Linked DNA regions of Homo sapiens: region 2 is linked to region 1. Evidence: promoter capture Hi-C in human tissues and cell types (Jung and others, 2019). All regions are on one chromosome and are shown on one strand. The core of a region is centred on a gene start or on the middle of the fragment in contact, and the rest is flanking DNA. Distances in the headings are between cores, read along the strand shown.

Region 1 (6,527 bases), core at 3,284-5,783:
AGTGGGAGCTTAAGGAAATACTTGCTGATCGAATGGCTTGATGGGTGAAAGCCCCCTACGTGCAGCTGGCAAGCAGCCCTCCCCACCATCAGCTCCCAGGATGGAGCAGGGCTGTGCTCTGGCTGTCTGGCAAGAGGCCCAGGAAACACAGGAGGCAGCTGCCCAGGGCTCCCTGCCACCTGCTGCCTCCTCCTTTTGTGTTGCCCTCACCAGGCACCCAGAAGAAGCTGGCTGGACTCCACACTCTTCCCATCAATGGCCAAGACACAAGGCCGCCAAGACATGAGCACACGGCCCAGGCATGGCACCCTCCCCAGCCACAACGGCTGCACAACCTGATCGGAGTTGACCCTGCTGGAGACACCCAGACCAATCCAGGACACCAGCCGCAAGAACAGCAGCAACACATACCACCCAGCCTGCCCCATACATCATCCCACGGCATCGTCCCCTCACAGTGAACTTGTACCCAGGGGGCTGAAGGCTTTTTCCGAGGTGACTGGGCAATGAGGAGGAGGCTGGGTTGGACTCTCAAGGCACTTTTTTTTTTTTTAATTTCCTTTGTATTTTTTATAGAGATGGGGTCTCACTGTGTTGTCCAGGCTGGTCTCGAATTCCTGGGCTCAAGTGATTCTCCCACCTTGGCCTCCCAAAGTACTGGGATTACAGGCATGAGCCACCACACCCAGCCCTTGGCCTCAAGCTCTTCTGCTGCTAGAGCCTGTCATTTTGGGTCTGCCCCATTCTGCAAGTTCAGGGATTGAGTAGCACTAAGAGGCCACTCCTGATGAGGAGCTCAGGCCCAGGCTGAGATCCTGGAGCTGTGATCTGTCCCCAAGGGCTAGACAAGAACATCTGGGGACAGGCAGGGGGTAAACTTGGGGCCCGCATTCCAGTGTGGGTAAACCAGGGCAGGTGATGGCAATGGGGAAGGCACAGGCAACACCACACTCCCGGAGGCAACAGTGAGCACTCAGACTCTGAAAGTAAAAGGGACACCAGGTCCTCCAGGCTACAGGTCCCTGCCATTAGCCTTGCCTTAGAAGTTGTCATCACCCTACCCTAACCCACGTGCTCCTTTAGCAGGACACCAGGGTTCTGGCCTAGCTGTTAGGAAGAGGCAGCCGCTGGCCCTGCAGCTGGAGGAAGAGCTGGTCTGAGCTCCAAGCCTGCCAGCCTCCTTGGGGCAGCTGGGCAGGATGAGACAGAGTCCAGGTTGGTGGCAAGGACACTGCTCACAGGGCTGCCAAGTAGAGCATGAGCTGAATTCTGCACAACTCAGGGGGTACTATTTGCATGCGTAAGGCATGAACTGTACCCATGAGAGTGATGTCACCTGCTAATTCTGCCTGCCCAGCTGCCCCTCCTGGGAAGAGAGGGAAGGAGAGGAAGAGGGAGCCCTTTCCCCTCTTAGGAGCCTTCCAGGGCATCACCACCTCACTTGCCCCAAACCCCCATCTGAGAAAGAACCACATTCCGGCACAGCACAGATAAAGAGATAGTTTTATGGGTAACAGTATGGGACAGACTGGGAAGGTTGCCAGGGCCTGTAGTGATGAGCTTCCCAGGAATAGACCAACACACAGGCAGGAGTGGCCCAGACAGACAAGTAGATAGACAGACAGACAGAGGGACAAGAAAACAACCAAGTGGGTAAGAGGCCCAGGCCAGGCTCAGCAGCTGTGTCCAGGCATCAGCTCCAGCTCTGCTCTGGGGAACTGGTGGAGGAGAAGGGCTGGCCGGGGCCTCAGTCCTTACAGGGCTCCTTCTCCTCATGCCCTACTATCCCTCATCCAGCCTGCTGGGATCCTTGGCAGGTGGAATTCCCAGGGCTATGGATGGCTGGGCTGAGTGAGCAGAGGATCGAGGCTCTTGGAGACTCCCTGGGGAGGTGGAGGCCTGGGTGGTGTGGGGTTAGCAGCAGCACTGGGGGGAATCTGGTCAAGTTCCAGGATGGGGCCACTGCTCAGCAGGGCCCCTGTGTCCAGGGCAGGCCCTCCACCTGCCCACCACACCAACATGGTGCAATAAATAAAGTTTCAAGTAGTAAGTCAGTGTCAAGCAGGAGAGCTGCAGGCTGGCAGACAGGCAGGGACTGAGAAAGAGAAGCCTCCAGCCACCCACCATATCTGCTCAGTGGGCTCAAGCGGTCGCAAGTCTGTCTTGTGCACTGGAGTGGGTGTCTGGCCCTGATGTCCACATGAGCACTCCCCGCAGGGGCTCAGCCCCTCACACCAGCGCCAGAGCCTGCTCGGTGGGGCAGAAGCAGGGCAACATGGTGCCCACAGCGTCCACGATGGCTGCCAGGTGCTCGTCCTGCGCCTGAGGCCCACAGAGCTGCATGAAGTCTGCCAGACGCAGCAAGTATTCAAGGTTGTGGCCGGAGAAGCCCCGGCAGGCCAGGATCTGCGTGGCAATGGCCTCTTCAGGCGCAGGGCCCAGGTAACCAGGGTTCTGTGGGGTGGCCACATAGGCCAATGCCTTCAGTGGTTGGTCAGGAGCATCTTGGGGATAGAAGGTGACCTCCTTGGTATCGTAGCCACCAAGCACTGCCTCTCGCACATTCAGGTACTTCAGGGCCTTGCTTACCTGCTCCCCTTGCACTTGGTATGCCACGCCCCAAGTGCAGCCCTGGGAAGAAATAGGGACACCCGGGGTCAGTCATGACAGCTCCTTGCTGCTCCCTCTCCTATCCTAACATGCCACCCCCACCCAGGACTGTGCTCTATAAGGGAGGCTGTGGTCGGCTGATGAGCCATCTGGTGGCAGTACCTCAAGCCCTTGTACTCTCTTTGTTAAGAACAGTTGAAAGGCCAGGCGTGGTGGCTCATGCTTGTAATCCCAACACTTTGAGAGGCCAAGGCAGGTGGATCACTTCAGGTCAGGTGTTCGAGACCGGCCTGGCCAAAATGGTGAAACCCCATCTCTACTAAAAATACAAAAATTAGCCAGGCATGGTGGCGTACGCCTGTAACCCAGCTACTCGGGAGGGTGAGGCAGTAGAATCGTTTGAACCCAGGAGGTGGAGGTTGCAGTGACTTCAGCCTGGGTGACAAGGGTAAGACTCCGTCTTAAAAAAAAAAAAAAAGGCATAGTTGAGGCCAGGTGCAGTAGCTCATGCCTGTAATCCCAGCATTTTGGGAGGCTGAGGGTGGGCAGATCACTTGAGATCAGGAGTTCCAGACCAGCCTGGCCAATATGGTGAAACTCCGTCTCTACTAAAAATACAAAAATTAGCTGAGTGTGGTAGCGCATGCCTGTAATCCCAGCTACTCGGGAGGCTGAGGTGGGAGAATCGCTTGAATCTGGAAGGCAGATGTTGCAGTGAGCCAAGATTGCATCACTGCACTCCAGCCTGGGCAACAGAGCAAGACTCTGTCTCAAAAACAAACAAACAAAACAACAACAACAACAACAAAAAAAAAAAACAGTTGACAAAGTGGTCTAGTACCAGGGAAGACAGGATTCCTCCTCAAAGTGTGGTCCAGGATGTGGTGGCATCACCTGTAAGCTAGTTAGGAATGCTGTGTCTCAGGACCCATTCTCATGCTACTGAACTAAAATCTGCATTCTAACAAGATCCTCATGTGATTTGGTGAGAAGCACTGAGCTAGAACACGTTTCTACTCTGCCAGAGAAGCATCAGACAGAGCTAGCCTGCAGCCAAGAGCCTATGAGCTCTCTCTGCTGGTCCCCCTTCACACTGGGCCAGGGTTCCCCTTCATGATTCGGGCACTTACCTCATGATCTTCAAGGAGCGTCACCACACGGCCAGGCTAGGGAGGGAAGAAATATTTTGAAATAGACAAGTTAGAAATCAGCTCTGCCATCAGCAAGGAAACCTTTATCAATCCCGCTGACCCGGGCCTCCAAGTGCCCCACTCTGCATGCTGAGTCCCATTCATGCAGGGGAAGGTGGGGGAGCGATGCACGGATGTAGGAGAAACGTCCAGAAACACTGACATGTCAGTGGTCCCAGTTGGTGATCAACACAGGGATCCACAGGTTCACAGACTCCAGCCATCACAGTGATGCACTGGGCACATACATTTAAATGAGCCACAAACCCCAGACACAGGTTTACACATTTCTTTCTATTGGCCCAGAGAGCCCCGGACATTCCAGGGCACTGGCGCCCAGTATCCCGCCCCCAACCCCCTCACTCCCCTGGGCACGGTTGGATGCTCACCATCTTGTCGCTGCCCCGATGGAAGGTGTCTCCCTGCCAGAAACGGCGGCTGTAGCCGCGCACGAAGCCCACACGGCTGTCGCTGTAGGCGAAGTCGGGCCTCCACACCAGGGAGCCGTACCCGAAAATCCACAGCGCTTGAGGGTCGCCGTCGTTTCGGGGGAACTGAGCGGACGGCGTAGGGGACTGCGAGGTGGGCGGGGTGTTCGGGGCTGCAGACTCCTGCTTCATGGTGCCTGGCACAGGGATAGGCCCAGGCGGCCTCCGGGGCTGGTCTCCGGCGTGGGCACGGAAAGACCGACGGACGCACACACCTGGCCTGGCACCGCTCGGTAGCTCCAGCTGAGCGCCCCCCATGGAGGCGCCCTTTAAACCTTCTTGCCGGGAGACCACGCCCACCGCGGCCAGCTGCCGCGGTGATTGGGGTGGGGCAAATCCCCTTTTGGCCAATCAACTTCGGATTCTGCTTCTCACTTAACCGCGCCGCGGGCCCAGCGCGCCCGCTGATTGGTTCAGCTCCACCTCTGTGGCAAACCTGGCAGGAGTGATGCAACGGCAGGGGAGGTTTCTCCAGCGCCGGCATGCAGCAAGGGCGCCTCGGATTGCGTCAGGCGGCGGGCAGGGGGCACCCGCCGGGCCCAGGGCGGGCACCGGGCGGGCGTCTCCCCAGCCGCCCCCTCATGACCTGGGCCCCTTGGAGGTACGGCGAGCGAGTCCCAGGCGGTGTCAGCCCAGCCTTGCCGCTAGTGCATCTGGCCGAGTCCCTGCCAGCCTAGGCGGCACAGACTCAGTCCCAAGTCGAGTCCAGGGCACGTCCAGAAGGAGCGCTCTGGGCGTCGTAAACTTCCGTCTCTGGGGCCCCTCCTGAGATCATGCACTGCGGGAAAGCTGTCGGAGGCACCGTCCGCATTCCGCTCAAGTGCCTCACGCCGTTGGCCATTGTGAGCAAATGGAGAAACTGGGCCACGGGGCTGCAGGGGGTTCTGCAGAGACTGCGGGGCTGAGTTAGGTAGGCCAGGCGCCCGGAGCTTGCAGGCCTCACATGGGCTACGCCCCGGACCAGGTGTGGGACCCCTCGAGCCCAGGTAGGCTCGGGGAAGAGCCTGTTAGAGCGCTTGGACCGACCGGCAGTCACTTTGGAGGTGGTGGCTGCACCTGCGGAGAAAGGCTATAAAGATGCAAAAGCCAGGCTAGTCTTGCCCCCAAGGCGATGGGTTTAATTCTTCCTGGACGTGAGATTTTGCAGCAATGATTAATCCATAGGCACAAGGTTCCGGGAGCAGCGGGCAAGGAGGGCCCAGTGAGGCCCCCACAAGACTATGGCCAGCTACTGGTCTTCTCCCTCGGCTTCTGGCCTCCCAGCCGAGTCCACAGGCCGCCGGGGGTTGACCCAATACGCAGCAAGGGACTGCCCTCAGGGGATGTCACTGACTGTAAAAGGGAAACAGAGGCAGCTGAAGGCCTTCTCTCTAAACTGGCCAGGAGATGGCTGGCAGGGGCAATGTGCAACATGGCTTCTCATTCGATTCTAATTCAATATTTAAACTAAACGTGATCTTCACACTTCACATATTCATTCCGAAGGTGTCGCAGATATAAGTGGGAAACTTGCACAACAGTGTGTATAGTACAAAGCTATTTCTTTAAAAACAAAAAGTATTCGTGTAATAAATAATCTGGAAGAATATACCTAAACAGTTAGCAGAGGCTGGCACCAGAGGAGGACTTTCAGTATCAAACTTAAACAGTAATGAAAAAGTCTGGATTTTTACAGGGAGCATGAATTACTTTTCCAATCAGGAAAAAAAAAAAATTACCAGCAAATGGTCCTTTCTGGTTATTCCTTTCTTTTTCGCTTTCTCTCCATTTCCCACATTCAGTCTCCCTCTTCTCTTCTATCCTGTCCCCTTTCGTTCATATGAGCACCTCCTTTGTTGGTAGCTTCTTAGAAGAATGTCCTCTTTTCCACTCACCAGCTGTGGGTTGTAGTCCGGGAAGTGGGAAACTGGTATCCACATATTGCTGAAGTATCTGAATTGGCACAAACAACCCTTTGAGAAAGCAGCTTGGTGATACAAGTCAAGAATCACAAAATATCCCTGCCCTTTGACCCAATACTCCTTCAGGAAATTATTCAAAATACGGGAAAAGCCATATGCCTGAAGATTTTCAATGCATTGTTACTTTTTTTTTTTTTTTTTTTTTTTTTTTTTTTTTTTGAGGTGGAGTCTCTCTCTGTTGCCCAGGCTGGAGTGCAGTGGCACAATCTCGGCTCACTGCAACCTCCGCCTCCCAGGTTCAAGCGATTCTCCTGCCTGAGCCTCCCGAGTAGCTGGGA
Region 2 (6,740 bases), core at 2,361-4,860, 580 kb before region 1:
CTCCTACCTCAGTCTCTCGAGTAGCTGGAATTACACGCATCTGCCACCACGCCCAGCTAATTTTTTTATTTTTAGTAGAGGTAGGGTTTCTCCATGTTGGTCAGGCTGGTCTCGAACTCCCAACCTCAGGTGATCTGCCCTCCTCGGCCTCCCAAAGTGCTAGGATTACAAGCATGAGCCACCATGCCCGGCCTTTTTTTTTTTTTGAGATGGAGTTTCGGTCTTGTTGCCCAGGTTAGAGTGCAATGGCGCGACGTAGGCTCACTGCAACCTCCGCCTCCTGGGTTCAAATGATTCTCCTGCCTCAGCCTCCTGAGTATCTGGGATTACAGGTGCCCACCACCATACCCAACTAATTTTTGTATTTTTAGTAGAGACGGAGTTTCACCATGTTGGCCAGGCTGGTGTCGAACTCCTGACCTCAGGTGATCCACTGGCCTTGGCCTCCCAAAGTGCTGGAGCCACTGCGCCTAGGTTTTTTTTTTTTTTTAAGACGGATTTTTCCTCTTGTTGCCCAGGCTGGAGTGCAATGGCGCAATCTCTGCTCACTGCAACCTCTGCCTCCCAGGTTCAAGCAATTCTCCTGTCTCAGCCTCCAAAGTAGCTGGGATTACAGGCGCCTGCCACCATGCCTGGCTAATTTTTTTATTTTTTGTATTTTTAGTAGAGACGGGGTTTCCCTGTATTGGCCAGGCTGGTTTCGAACTCTTGACCTCAGGTGGATCAAAGTGCCTCCCAAAGTGCTGGGATTACAGGTGTGAGCCACCGTGCCTGGCCCCCAGCGAATTTCTTTTAAGGTTTTTGTAGAGATGAGGTCTCACTATATTGCACAGGTTGGTTTTTGTTTTTTGTTTTTTGTTTTCAGAGTCTCCCTCTGTCACCCAGGCTGGAGTGGAATGGCACGATCTCGGCTCACTGCAACCTCTGCCTCCCAGGTTCAAGTGATTCTTGTGCCTCAGCCTTTTCAGCAGCTGGAATTAGAGGTGTGTACCACCATGCTTGGCTAATTTTTTTTATTTTCAGTAGAGATGGGGTCTCACCATGTTGGCCAGGCTAGTTTCGAACTCCTGGCATCAAGTGATCCACCGACCTCAGCCTCCCAAAGTGCTGGGATTACAGGCATGAGCCACCGTGCCTGACCTTTAATGCATTATTCAGTTCTGTCCTTAAACTTGTCCTGTGAGGTAGGTGGTATTAACCCTATTTTACTTATGAAAGAAACTGAGGCCTAAAATTTAAAAGAAATTCTACCCAGGTCACACACCTTATAAGAAGCACAGGACACAGGATTTAAACCCAGATCTACCTGGTCTCATATGCCCTGCTTTTTTTTTTTTTTTTTTTTTTTTTGAGACGGAGTCTCGCTCTGTTGTCCTGGGTGGAGTACAGTGACACGATCTCAGCTCACTGCAACCTGTACCTCCCTAGTTCAAGCGATTTTCCTGCCTCAGCCTCCTGAGTAGCTGGGATTACAGATGTGCACCACCACACCCAGCTAATTTTTTTGTATTTTTAGTAGAGATGGGTTTCACCATGTTGGCCAGGCTGGTCTTGAACTCCTGACCTCCAGCGACCCATCTGCCTCGGCCTGCTGAAGTGCTGCGATTTTTTTTTTGAGATGGTCACCGTGCCCAGCCGAGGCCCTACTTTTTAACCACTGTGCTATGTATAACTGTACTACCCTGGTATAGTATACACTATGCTTTATTATAGCTATACTCTAGTATATGTATAGTCTCTTCTACTCTGTGATACTGTTCTATGCTATGCCTCACCCCTAGTGTCTGTTCACCAAAATGCCAGGCACTCAGTCAATCTTGTTACCCACTGTATACTAGCACCTCTATAGAGTATAATACGTGTTAGGGCTCAGTATGGTGCCTTGCCCTGTAATTCCAGCACTTTGGGAGGTTGAGGTGAGAGGATTGCTTGAGGCCAAGAGTTTACGACCAGCTTGAGGAACATCATGAGACCCCATCTCTACAAAAAATAAAGATATAAAAAATTACAGCCAGGTGTGGAGGCTCACGCCTGTAATCCCAGCACTTTGGGAGGCTGAGGTGGGCGGATCACAAGATCAAGACATTGAGACCATCCTGGCCAACACGGTGAAACCCTGTCTCTACTAAAAATACAAAAATTAGCTGGGCGTGGTGGCACACGCCTGTAGTCCCAGCTACTCGGGAGGCTGAGGCAAGAAAATCACTTGAACCCGGGAGGCGGACCTTGCAGTGAGCCGAGATCGTGCCATGGCACTCCAGCCTGGGCGACAGAGTGAGACTCTGTCTCAAAAAAAAAAAAAAAAATTAGCCAGATATGGTGGTGCATGCCGGTAGTCCCAGTTACTTGGGAGGCTGAGGCGGGAGGATTGCTTGAGCCCAGGAGTTTGAGGCTGTGGTGAGCTACGATTGTGCCACTGCACTCCAGCATGGGTAACAGAGCAAGACCCTATCTCTTTAAAAATATATATTTACAGCCTGAGCAACATGGTAAAACCCCGTCTCTAGTAAAAATACAAAAATTAGCCAGGCGTGGTGGCAGGCACTTTTAATCCCAGCTACTCAGGAGGCTGAGGCAGGAGAATCCCTTGAACCTGGGAGATGGAGGTTGCAGTAAGTTGAGATTGCACCACTGCACTCCAGCCCGGGCGACACAGCGAGATTCCGTCTCAAAAAAAAAAAAAAAAAAAAAAAAAAAAAAATATATATATATATATATATATATATATGTGTGTGTGCATAAATAAATTAGCTAAGAGAAGGAAATTCTTTCTGTAAATGCCTTCTTTTTGGCCCTAGTCAACATTAACTTATTCATTCTACAGCCACTTACATTGGAACTGTGACCTGAAACCAAAGGGATAGGCATAGGAACCTGGGCCAGTGGACTGTGAGGGATAGAGGGAAAGGTGGGCAGGTGGGCAGGTGGGCCTAGTGACCCCACAGGTGTGAGAAGGCTGGGTCATTGATGGGCCACAGGAGCACCCAGAAGGCTCAGGCCCAGGCTCGGAAGCAGCTTGTCCTGTCCTTGGCACCCACAGACAGGCGATATTCAGCGGGTTCCAGGTCTGTAGGAGGCCAGGGAGGATCTACCCTCACTCACTCTCCCCTCTACCTTCGCCTCTAGACCCCAGCTTGGTTGCTTTCTTGAGATCTCACAGCCACACGCAAGAGCAAACAGGAGAGACAGCCTCTGAGGAGCAGAGGCCAGGAGGACCCTCTGCTAATGTCACCAAGGAGGAACCCCTCATGTCAGCTTTTGCCAGTGAGCCCAGGAAGAGAGACAAGCTGGAGCCAGAAGCCCCAGGTTTGCAGGAGGCGGGGGTCATATTTTGGTGGATAAAAGTAGGGGAAATTGTCCCTTTTCCTAGGCCTGGCAAATGAGAGAAGAGAGAAGCTTCTGTGCTTTTGGACATCTAACATTAATCCTCATTATTGGCTTCAAGTCAGTCTTCATTGCTGATGCATGTCTTCTTCCTGCACATGCTTCCTGTTTTCTTGTCCTGTTACTGCCCCTTCTCCGCCTTCCCTTTTAAGAGGCAGCAATGCGTGATGGCTGAATCCCACTCCACCCGCTCCCGGCAGACTATCTTCCTGTCCTTGCTGTAGCTGCCCCAGCTCTGGCTCTGTCCATCCCACTGTTCTTTCTCTCTCTGCTCACAGTGCTGGGGGAAAGATGGCAGGGCCAGAGTAATAAGAGAGGCAGAATCTGACAAAGATCTTATGAACATGCCAGACCAGAAGCAGAGAGGCCAGTGGAAGCACTCATTTCCCAGAAACTAGATTATTTCATTAGTGATTAACAAAATAAGAAATTGAATTATGAGAGCCAGGAACCTCATGCCCCCGGAGGAGCTCCAGGCCAGCTGAGCAGGTTGGGTGGGGGTAGGCGTGAAGGAGGAAAATGCTGTGGGATTTGTTTCTGTATCCTGCCCCCCAGGAGCAGTATAGTTGCCTCCTCCTCATTGTCCCCACTCTCCTACTCCTTTAAGGGCTGGTACTGGAAAGTGGAGATGGTGCCTTCCTGACATATGTGGTCCTCCTTCTTCATCTTTTTCTCCTTTCTTTCTCTTTCTTCCTTCTCCTTCTCCTCCTCTCTCCCCTCCCAACAAATCCTTGGGGTCAGCAAGGGGCTGGAGCCCAGGATGGAGTGTGTCTGTCATATTTGAGACTTTCACCCCAGCCCCAGGAGTTCCAGTCCCTGGGCCATGCCATTTAGCCATAACCGAGGGTAGAAGCTGGCAGATCCTGGAACAGAAGTGGATGTGGCAGCTGCTGGGTGATGGTGGGGACCCCTGTGGATAGTGAGCTGAGCCGTTTGGGTAATACTATCATGCTTTGTCTCCCCAGCTCTGGCATTGCCCGTGACCCCTCAGAAAGAATGGCTGCACATGGACACTGTCGAGCTGGAGAAGCTCCACTGGACCCAGGACTTGCCCCCTGTCCGGCGGCAGCAGACACAGGAGGTGAGGAGGGCCACCTGGCCTACAAGGGGTGGGTGAGATAGGGCAGGAGAGGAGCTGCTGCTCTTGCCCTCAGAACTCAGGCCTTTCTATTGCCCAGAGCCTGAGAAGCATCTCTCCTTTGCTCTCACCCACCTTTACCATCACTCTGCCTGGCCCCCAAGGCCAGATAAGCCCCATTTCTGGTAGAAGTAGAGTCAGTACCTAAGTCCTGAAAGGCCTGGGATTAAAGGTGGGGAGTGGGTGTGGGAAGGTTGCTGGAGCCCCCAGACCACAGTCCTCTTTCTCTTCCCATTAGAGGATGCAGGCTCGATTCAGTCTTCAGGGAGAACTACTGGCCCCTGACGTGGACCTGCCCACCCACCTGGGTCTGCACCACCATGGAGAGGAGGCAGAGGTGAGGCATGGGACTGGAGAGGATGGGGCAGCTCTTTTAACAACCCCATGGAAAAGGATCTCTGGTCAACTGCCTTTGACCTTCTGTGTGCCCTGTTCTAGTTCATGCCTTTGCTGTGCATTCAGTTTCTTTTTTTGGAGACAGAATCTCGCTCTGGCCCAGGCTGGAGTGCAGTGGTATGATCTTGGCTCACTGCAGCCTCCACCTCCTGGGTTCAAGCCATTCTCCTGCCTCAGCCTCCTGACTAGCTGGGATTACAGGCGCATGCCACCACGTCCAGCTAATTTTTGTATTTTTAGTAGAGACGGGGTTTCACCATGTTAGCCAGGATGGTCTTGATCTCCTGAGCTTGTGATCCGCCTGCCTCGGCCTCCCAAAGTGCTGGGATTACAGGCGTGGCATTCAGTTTCTTAGGCTCAAAATCTTGATCCTCTCTCCGTATTCTGGTCAGTTGCTAGAATTTGCCGATCTTCTGTCACCTCCTCATGATGCCTCCTGCACTGTGGCCTTGCTTCCTTGGTCTGCTCACTCTCCATGCCCTCCATTCTCCGCCCCCCTGCCATTCCATGTCTCTCGGGGCTGCTGTGCTGATTTCTTCTGGCCCAGCTCAGGCCATGCCTTGCCTCCAGAAGTTTCCCAGCTTCCCTCTGCTCACAAAATAAGGTTCTGGTCTCAGCTGGGCAAGATATTCCTTCTACCTTTTGTCCCTGCTGACCCTGCTGCTCTGCCTCCTTCACTTCCTGCTACACCACTCTGCTGGCTTCTCCCCACATACCTCCTGTGCTCAGGGCCCTCCAGGACTCCACTCGCTCCAGGAAATGCCTTTGCCTTTTGCTCCATGTCAGGCCATCAAAGCTCTACCCATCCACTGAGACCAATTTAATTTTCCAGGTTCCCTTCTCTCTCTCTCCTGTCCGCCGGTCGCAAATTAAACATCAGTTATCACGTTCCTCTGCATCTGCCTCATGGCATGGTTACTTGTATGCAAGTCTTATCTTTACCGGCTTGAGGCTCCATGGAAAGCAGGGCAGATTTCACTTATTTATCTTTGTCTTTCCTGTGATACCTTGCTTGGTGTTTTGGGGGCACTGTGCTGTATCCTGGCTGCTTCTGACTTCTTGTCCCTGCCCCAGAGAGCGGGGTATTCCCTACAGGAGCTGTTCCACCTGACCCGCAGCCAGGTTTCCCAGCAGAGAGCACTGGCACTGCATGTGTTAGCCCAGGTCATCAGCAGGGTGAGTGGATTGCCAGCCTGGTCCTGCCCACCCTTCCCTTCACCCCACAGCCTCAGACTTCCCCATCTCCTGCCCTTTTCACTCTGGCTCACTAGCCAGCTATGTGCTTTTAACAACCTAGGATCATAGGGGGGCAAACGAAGGATTAGGGCAAAGCCTCTAGATAACTTCAGCATCTTCAGCAAGGTTTTACCCTCCTGCCCTCAGGCCCAGGCTGGTGAGTTTGGGGACCGGCTAGCAGGCAGTGTCTTAAGCCTCCTTTTGGATGCTGGTTTCCTCTTCCTACTGCGCTTCTCCTTGGATGACAGAGTGGATGGGGTCATTGCAACCGCCATCCGTGCTCTTCGGGCTCTGCTGGTGGCTCCTGGAGATGAGGTACCACAGGGATAGGAATGGGGCTTGGGCTGGGAGGTGCCAGGGTCCATATTCCTGTTCCTGGGCATGGCCCCATTGCTAAGGCTTTGCGGGCAAGATGTAGAATGGGATGGCAGGCGTCTCCCTCATCTCCTAAAGTCCCTAAAGCCCAGGAGGCTTGCCTTTATGGTTTTTATTGGGGAGCATCCTCTCTACTCCTGGATCCATTTCCTGGCCCCTTCAGCATTGCCCCCCAACTCCCGTTCCTCTGGCAGGAGCTCCTCGACAGCAC

What was found. The method cuts DNA at HindIII sites, captures the fragments that hold promoters and counts their contacts. A contact is called where the count stands out against the background at its distance.
Region 2: a contact is called between a fragment that was not itself captured here and the fragment with the promoter of CHAC1 in region 1, in 1 of the 25 tissues and cell types used here (spleen).

Annotation. Positions count from the first base shown.
Region 1 is chr15:40,951,477-40,958,003 of GRCh38, reverse strand. CHAC1 (ChaC glutathione specific gamma-glutamylcyclotransferase 1) reads right to left here and starts at 4,533. Exons shown (of 3, transcript NM_024111.6): 1 at 4,190-4,533; 2 at 3,741-3,776; 3 at 1,492-2,631. The coding sequence starts at 4,420. The coding sequence ends at 2,230. RefSeq lists enhancers at 1-252, 1,755-2,305, 4,731-5,324 and a silencer at 4,800-5,059. The HindIII fragment of the contact is 19,989 bases long and covers 1-6,527 here.
Region 2 is chr15:41,527,589-41,534,328 of GRCh38, reverse strand. RPAP1 (RNA polymerase II associated protein 1) reads left to right here. Exons shown (of 25, transcript NM_015540.4): 7 at 3,127-3,306; 8 at 4,350-4,465; 9 at 4,761-4,859; 10 at 5,993-6,094; 11 at 6,302-6,469; 12 at 6,724-6,740. Among named protein-coding and RNA genes, the nearest start is that of RPAP1, 13 kb to the left of the region's middle. The HindIII fragment of the contact is 5,608 bases long and covers 807-6,414 here.